Linked DNA regions of Homo sapiens: region 2 is linked to region 1. Evidence: promoter capture Hi-C in 16 types of primary human blood cells and fetal thymus (Javierre and others, 2016). All regions are on one chromosome and are shown on one strand. The core of a region is centred on a gene start or on the middle of the fragment in contact, and the rest is flanking DNA. Distances in the headings are between cores, read along the strand shown. Region 1 holds the start of ABHD2 (abhydrolase domain containing 2, acylglycerol lipase). Region 2 overlaps DET1 (DET1 partner of COP1 E3 ubiquitin ligase).

Region 1 (3,559 bases), core at 606-3,105:
GACGGGGTCTCACTATGTTGCCCAGGTTGGTCTCAGACTCCTGGGCTCCGCCTCAGCTTCCCAAAATGTTGGATTACAGGCGTGAGCCACTGTACCGGTCCATGTTTTGATACATGTATACATTGTGGGATAGCTACACCAAGCTAGTTAACATATGCATTACCTTATATACTTATCTAGTGATAATCTAAAGCTCTTTTTTGGAAGTCCAAACTGTTTTAACTCAGAGTCAGGACGATGGGGTTCATCACTAAGAGACTTTGCTACTGAAGCCTGGGTTTTTCTTTTCCAAGATGAAAGAGAATACAGAGGAATATATAAACACTGAGATGAAACCTTTTTTTTTCAAGGTAACATGACAACTGAATGAAAAATAGAGCAATGGCAAAGGATTCTTTCTTCTCCTTCACTCTGATGTACCATGGCTGTGAGTTCTTTCAAAGACAGACACAAAGGGTCTGGGGCTACATTCAGGCCTGAGAAGCTATTTCTGTCCACACTCTGTGATGTCTACACCTTCAGAATGGGGAATGGGTTTCAGGGGTCTCTGACAGATAGAGCTCATGCAATGATTTCTGGTCCGGTGCTGATCAGCCTTCAAAGGATGTTATTTGGTTACGCTCCATAAAACTTGAGCCAGCCCACTGTTCCTTGTCACAACCTGAAATATGTTGGGAAAAATTTACATGGTAACAAATGCCACTTCCCTTCTCTGACTAAATCGCTCCTCTCATTTCATCCCCTGCTCCCTCTCTCCGAGCCCTATGGGGCCTTGGTAGGGTGGCCTTGTCTGCCCTACAGGGGTTGCATTTCAAGTCGCTCAAGTGTTCTATTCTTGGTACACGACATGCCATTGCAAAAGCAGTTTCAGGCTCATAGAATTTTAGAAATGGGCCTAGTTTCCCAGCCGGATGAGGTGAGTGGGTGATGGGGGAAGAATCAGCCTTGATTGAATGCCTGTTGAGTGCCAGCCACTGTTGGCATTTATCAGAGTTTATTTAATCTTCTCATCAACTACTATTGTTACCCTCAGTTGCCAAGTGAAGGGAGCATGCGGGAAGGTTAAGTGACTTGCCCAAGCCCACACAACCGGTAGGAGCCCCAATTCCAGGCCCTAGTTCCAAGGCTACATTCTTCCAGGCGGCCTCCAACTGGGTTGGTTAAGGGTTGAAAGGACAGTGGGACAATAACTGAGGCCCGTATTGCCCAGAGCGTCCCCATCCCCCGTCCGGAGCTGGAAGAGGCCATAGACCGCTGCCTCCACATCTTTTCCTCTCCTTCGGGTTCGGTGACTCACGACCCTTCTTCCTCTCTCCCGGGATATGACCTCAAATTTCACCCCTGCGAAATTTGAGTACACGTGAGTCAGTCAGTCGGCCTGGACCCATAAGAGCCCCAGCTGAGCTACCAGCAGCTGAGCTACCAGCCGACCTCATTCCTCTGAGCCCAGTCGACAGCTGACCTTACCCAGCCCTCTAAAGCAGTTTGCGGTCACAATTACCCGTCTCTTCACCCCGCCCCCATCGACATCAAACACGACCCACCTTCTAGCCCTCCTCCCCTTTCCCCGCCCACTCCGGGCTGGCCTTATCCAGTAGCGTCTGGGTCCCTGGACTAAAGCCGTCAAATGTAACCAATTGCTGAGGAGCTCTCCCCTAAGAATCCCGCCTCCACTCTGAGGAACAGCTTCGCTGATCAATGGATCCCCTCCTAGACGCAATGAGCGCGCGGGGCAAGTGGAGAAGCGGCTGAACTGCCCAATGAACAAGCGGTTTCCGTGGTTAGGGGCGTGGCAGAAGCGGTCGTCAGGGGCGTGGCGGCAGTTACTTGGGCGGGGCCGGTAGCGGCGGGAGCTGCACTGGCCAGGGGTTCCGGCTGTATATCCATGAGCGCCGCTGGCAGCCGGGGAGCTGCAGGAACCAGACTGGGGGCGAGCTGAGCACCTGTAGTCAATCACACGCAGGTAAAGCCACGGCCGAGCGAGCTCCGCGGAGCGGGGATCGCACCCCGGACCCGTCGAACCGAATCTCCGAGCCCCGAGGTCCCCGGCGTAGCTCGGCCCATCACGCCGCAGCCTGAGGGGATCCTGGGGGGCCTGTCATCTGGCGCCGTGGGGGTCCCAGGGGCTGGCTTGCCCAGTGGTGGGGACAGCCCAGATCGCGGCGGGGGATACGCCTTCCTGAGGCCCTTTGTCCCCTTCTGCCCGAGGAACCGAGGTTGGGGACAACCCCGACCGCGGCCTTTCCCCCATTGGTGCTCACTCCTGGGTCTTCAGGGGCCTGGGGAGGGGTCTGCCGGTTCAGGCTCGGCGAAGAAGGTCCGGGATCCGCACCTGGAAGGAGAGGGCCGAGGGGCCTGATTACAGCCCGAGATACCCGAGAGGCCTCTGTGTTTCGGGGCTCCAGGGGCTCACGCAGGACCAGTGGGTTTAAGTTCTAGAAAGGCAGCTTTTGACCCACTTGGAAGCACATTTACCGAGTTCGGCCCCGCGACCGGCACTGTTCTAGGCCCTTCGTGAGCTTTTCCCACAGCTAGAGCTGTCCAGCAGCGCAGGAGGCTGCCTGCCAGGCCGGGCAGCTAGCGCCTCGACCTTGGCGATGTCCAAGCAGTGGCCTGATGACAGCCACCTGTGTCGGATGCTTAGGACTCCCAAGGGAGGACTGCATGACCCATCTGTAAGGGCCTTCTCTACCCACAAATGCACTCTAAGTGGCCTTTGATGCCTAGCTTGAGAAGAGTACTTCTGGGGGTCCATTAGGTTCCAAGTGGCTGTTGAATTCACCCATAATGAATTTTGAGGTTTCAGCTCTCAAGAGTGGGTGTTAGCAAAGAGACTGGATTATACAAAAAGATAGAGGTTTATTTAGCCACTGTGAAACTCCTTGTATTTGAACTACCATGGACCGCTCTCTTAATCTTCCCAATCTCTCTTTTTTGGTTGCTGGACCTCCAGTTTGTCAGTTTCACCTGCATTCCAGTAACCAAATCCAAAGGCATGTTCCAAGAACAGGCTCCACAGAGGGACCTGGAGAGACTGCAGGTTTGGCAGAGTCAACAAGATCTGTGCCCAGAGCTTTTCGAAGGCCGTTTCCTTACAGCCACATTAAGCAGAGTCCAAAAGAGAAATCCTTCACTACCCTCTGTCATTTGCCGGAATAGAGAGAACATAATAATCTAAAGGTCAGGAGGCAGAGAAAGAATCTTAACACACCTTGCTGTGTGTTTTAGGATGAATTAATCTTTGAACATCTAGTCAGAAAGCAGTCCATATACAGCTGGTAGTCAGCACGGACTGTGACATTTTAGAGCTGAAGGCACCTTAGATAGAGCTCATCTCTATCTAAGTCTAATTAGGTGGACTCTCATTCAGTCTCCTCAATGCACAGGTGAGGAAACTGAGGCCTGGGGTGGTCACAGGGCTGGTTGGTCATCACAGGCCCATGACTAAGGGTTGATCTCTTGACTGTATTTAGATCTAGCCAGTGCATGACTTATTTCACTCCAAGCTTAGTTTGCCCATTCTCAGTGTTTTAAGTTCTAGGGGAGTCCAGAGAGGTTA
Region 2 (3,559 bases), core at 1-2,500, 560 kb before region 1:
GCTCACCATTGGCCGCAACATTGGTAATGTGCAGCAGGACAAAAAAGCGTTCAAAGAGCCGGCCCCGGATATTCACTGACCGCTGGTCATTGCCATTGGACAGGATTTCTCCTTCGTATCCCTGCAGTAGGTCCTCTGCTGCCTGGCAGCCCTGGTACTCATAGATTTCAAGAGATGTCTGGTCTGAAGAAAAAGCAATAAAGTAGCGTCCATCAGGTGAGAATTTACGCAAGAAACAAGGAGGCTTTTCAACGTTGACAACTGTGAAGTTGGGGAAGACATTCTGATGGAACACTCGGACTTGGTGCCAGTGGGTACCTGCCTTGCCTGAACTGATCCGCCGGCGTTCCAAGCGGTGAATGACATTTTGGTTTTGGATTCTTCGAGGCTTGATGGTAGAAACATGATGATCCATTATCACATCTCTAAACAGAAAAGTAAAGCAGAAGTCAAGAAAGTGAAACAGAATTTACCAAAATATAAATATATACAAGTGAAACAGATTTCTCTTCTTATATCCTGAACCTAGGAGCTCCCAAGATGACAGTGACTGGCATTACTACTTCCCAGATTATACTGAGTAAGTGGTCCTAACATTTCTAAGTCTAGAAACAGGTCTAAGGGAAGGATCTAGTTCACTAGGAATACCTTCCAAGTATGCTCAGCTGTTGGGAAAGTTCAACAGAAAAAAACCTACAACTACAAATTTGAACAGTATAAGACACATTCGGCTGGGCGCAGTGGCTCACACCTGTAATCCCAACACTTTGGGAGGCCGAAGCAAGTGGATCACCTGAGCTCACTAGTTCAAGCCCAGCCTGGAAAACATGGCAAAACCCTGTCTCTACAAAAAAATATAAAAATTAGCTAGGCATGGTGGCACATGACTGTAGTTCCAGCTACTTGAGAGGCTGAAGTGGAAGGATTGTTTAAGCTTGGATCATCGAAGCTGCAATAAGCCGTGGTCACAACACTGCACTCCAGCCTGGGCAACAGAGTGAGACTCTATCTCAAACAAACAAACAAAAAAATCATATTCAATGTGCATTCATTCCAGCAAAAAATATTTATTGGGCTGTTAAGATATCCATATTACCCAAAATAATCTACAGATTCAATACAAACCCTATCAAAATCCTAATAGCACTTTTCACAAAGATAAAAAATTCATCCTAAAATTCATATGGTATCTCAAGGGCCTCCAAATACACAAAATAATTTTGAAAAAGAACAAAGAGGATTCAAGCCTCTTGATTTCAAAATATATTACAAACCACAGTAATCAAAAAATTGTGGTACTGGATAAAGACAGACACAGACCAATGAAATGGCCCACAGATAAACTCTGGCATATATGGTTAAACAATCTTTGATAAGGTCCTACTACTACTCAATAGAAAAAGGACAGTCACTTCAACAAATGGTGTTGGGAAAACTGAATAGCCACATGCAAAAGAATGAAGTCAGACCCTATCTTACACCCTATACAAAAATTAACCCAAAATAGGAAAAGAATCTAAATATAAGACCCATAACTATAAAACTACTAGAAGAAAATACAGGAGGAAAGCTTCATGACATCAGATCTGGCAGTGATTTCTTGGATAAGACACAAAAGGCATAGGCGACCAAGACAAAAATAGACAAATGGGAATACATCAAACTTAAAACTTCTGTGATCAAAGGACACAATCAACCGAGTGAAAGGGCTTTCTACAGAATGGAAGAAAATATTTGCAAATCATATATTGGATAAAGGGTTAATATCTAGAACATATAAAGAACTCCTATAACTCAATAACAAAAAATCATATACCCAATTTTAAAATGGTCAAAGTACTGGAACAGACATTTCTCCTATACAAATGGCCACAAAGCATATGAAAAGATAGATGCTCAACATCACTAATCATCAGAGAAATGTAAATCAAAACTACAATGGGATATCACCTCACACCCATTAGAACGACTGCTTTTTTTAAAAAAAGAAAATGACAAGTTTCATTGAGGACATAGAGGAAGTTGAACCCTTGTGCATTGTTGGTGGAACTGAAAAATAGTACAGCTACTAAGGAAAACAGTATGAAGGTTCCTTGAAGAAAATTAGAACTACCATAAGATCCAACAATTCTACTTCTGGGTATAAATCCAAAATAACTGAAAGCAGGATTTCTAAGAGATATTTGCACACCCATGTTCATATCAGCGCTATTCATAGTAGTCAAGAGATGGAAGCAACCCAAAAGTTCACTGATGGATGAGTGGATAAACAAAATATGGTATATACACACAAAGGAATATTACTCGGCCTTCAAAAGGAAGAAAATTCTGACATATGCTACATCACTGAAACTTGAGGACATTATGTGAAGTCAAATAAGCCAATCACAAACAGACAAATACTGTATGATTCCACTTAAATGAAGTATCAAACGTAATCAAATTTAACAGCCAGGTGCCATAGCACACACCTGTAATCCCAGCTACTTGGGAGGCTGAGGTGGACCACTTGAGCCCAGGAGTTTGAGTCTAGCTTGGGCAACAGAGCAAGACCCAATCTCTAAAAAAAAAAAAAAAAAAAAAAAATTAATGTAAAATACTTATCATTAAAAAAAGAAAAAGGAATCAAATTCACAGAAACAAAGAAGAATGGTGGTCACCAGGGACTAGCAGGAGGGGAAAGAGAAGGTGCTGTTGAATGGGTTAGACTTTTCAGATTTTCAAGATGAAAAACTTCTCGAGATCAATTTCACAATGTGAATATACTTAATACTACTGAACTGTACACTTACAATCAGTTAAGACGGTAAATGTTAGGCTATTTTAAAATCACAATAAAAATATGTTTTAATATTTATGGGGCATCTATTATATGGCAAAGTCTTCTAATTGTTTTATTATACCTTGATTCAAATCAAAGTTAAATCACAGGCCATAAAAGTCAACGGCATTTAGTGAAAAACTTAAGTTATAAAGCTGTTGCCAGATAAGATGGAATAATCAAACACCACCTTCTCTCTCCCACTAAAAATGCAGCTATAAAACCTAGACAGAATGCATAAGACAGGCATATGAGAAAAACCAATTGGCTAACAATAAAGTACCACTGAATGGGCAGTGAGGTTAACATTGTCTCCCCTGGTTCTCCTGCTGCTTGAAGAGCAAGTGTGTTGCAAGGAAGGATAATTAAAGCCCCAATTTTGTCATCAGAGGATCAAAAGGGAGACCCCAGTGGAACCAGAAGGTACTGGGGAGATATCAGATGGGGAGGAGCTCAGAAAAGTAACATCATGAAGTTGTTCATGAACTCCCAAGCTGCACACGTGTGGATCTGGTCCAAATCATACTAAAGGCTTTGAGAACTGAAATAATCAACACCCAGATTGCAGACTGGCCACTGAATGTCACATACATGGGACAGATCCAAATAGCACTGCAAAGACTTTCTGAAAATTCATCTGCCATTAGAACCATAGCCTAAAGAGAGTTACAAATTGCAAATTCCCTGAAGCTAATTAGGTAGATTGCCTACCAAGCCAAAAATCACCAACATCCTCTT

What was found. The method cuts DNA at HindIII sites, captures the fragments that hold promoters and counts their contacts. A CHiCAGO score of 5 or more calls a contact.
Region 2: a fragment that was not itself captured here is called in contact with the fragment with the promoter of ABHD2 in region 1 in 1 of 17 cell types (total B cells); the score reaches 5.7 in total B cells.

What each region holds. Positions count from the first base shown.
Region 1 is chr15:89,086,601-89,090,159 of GRCh38, forward strand. It overlaps ABHD2 (abhydrolase domain containing 2, acylglycerol lipase), which reads left to right and starts at 1,856. Exons shown (of 11, transcript NM_152924.5): 1 at 1,856-1,963. LOC124903573 reads right to left here. Exons shown (of 7, transcript XM_047433432.1): 5 at 2,235-2,332; 6 at 1,468-2,086; 7 at 961-1,341. The coding sequence ends at 1,127. RefSeq lists enhancers at 619-1,264, 1,875-2,054, 1,996-2,515. The HindIII fragment of the contact is 11,698 bases long and covers 1-3,504 here.
Region 2 is chr15:88,531,291-88,534,849 of GRCh38, forward strand. DET1 (DET1 partner of COP1 E3 ubiquitin ligase) reads right to left here. Exons shown (of 5, transcript NM_001144074.3): 2 at 1-425. The coding sequence starts at 415. Among named protein-coding and RNA genes, the nearest start is that of DET1, 14 kb to the right of the region's middle. The HindIII fragment of the contact is 636 bases long and covers 933-1,568 here.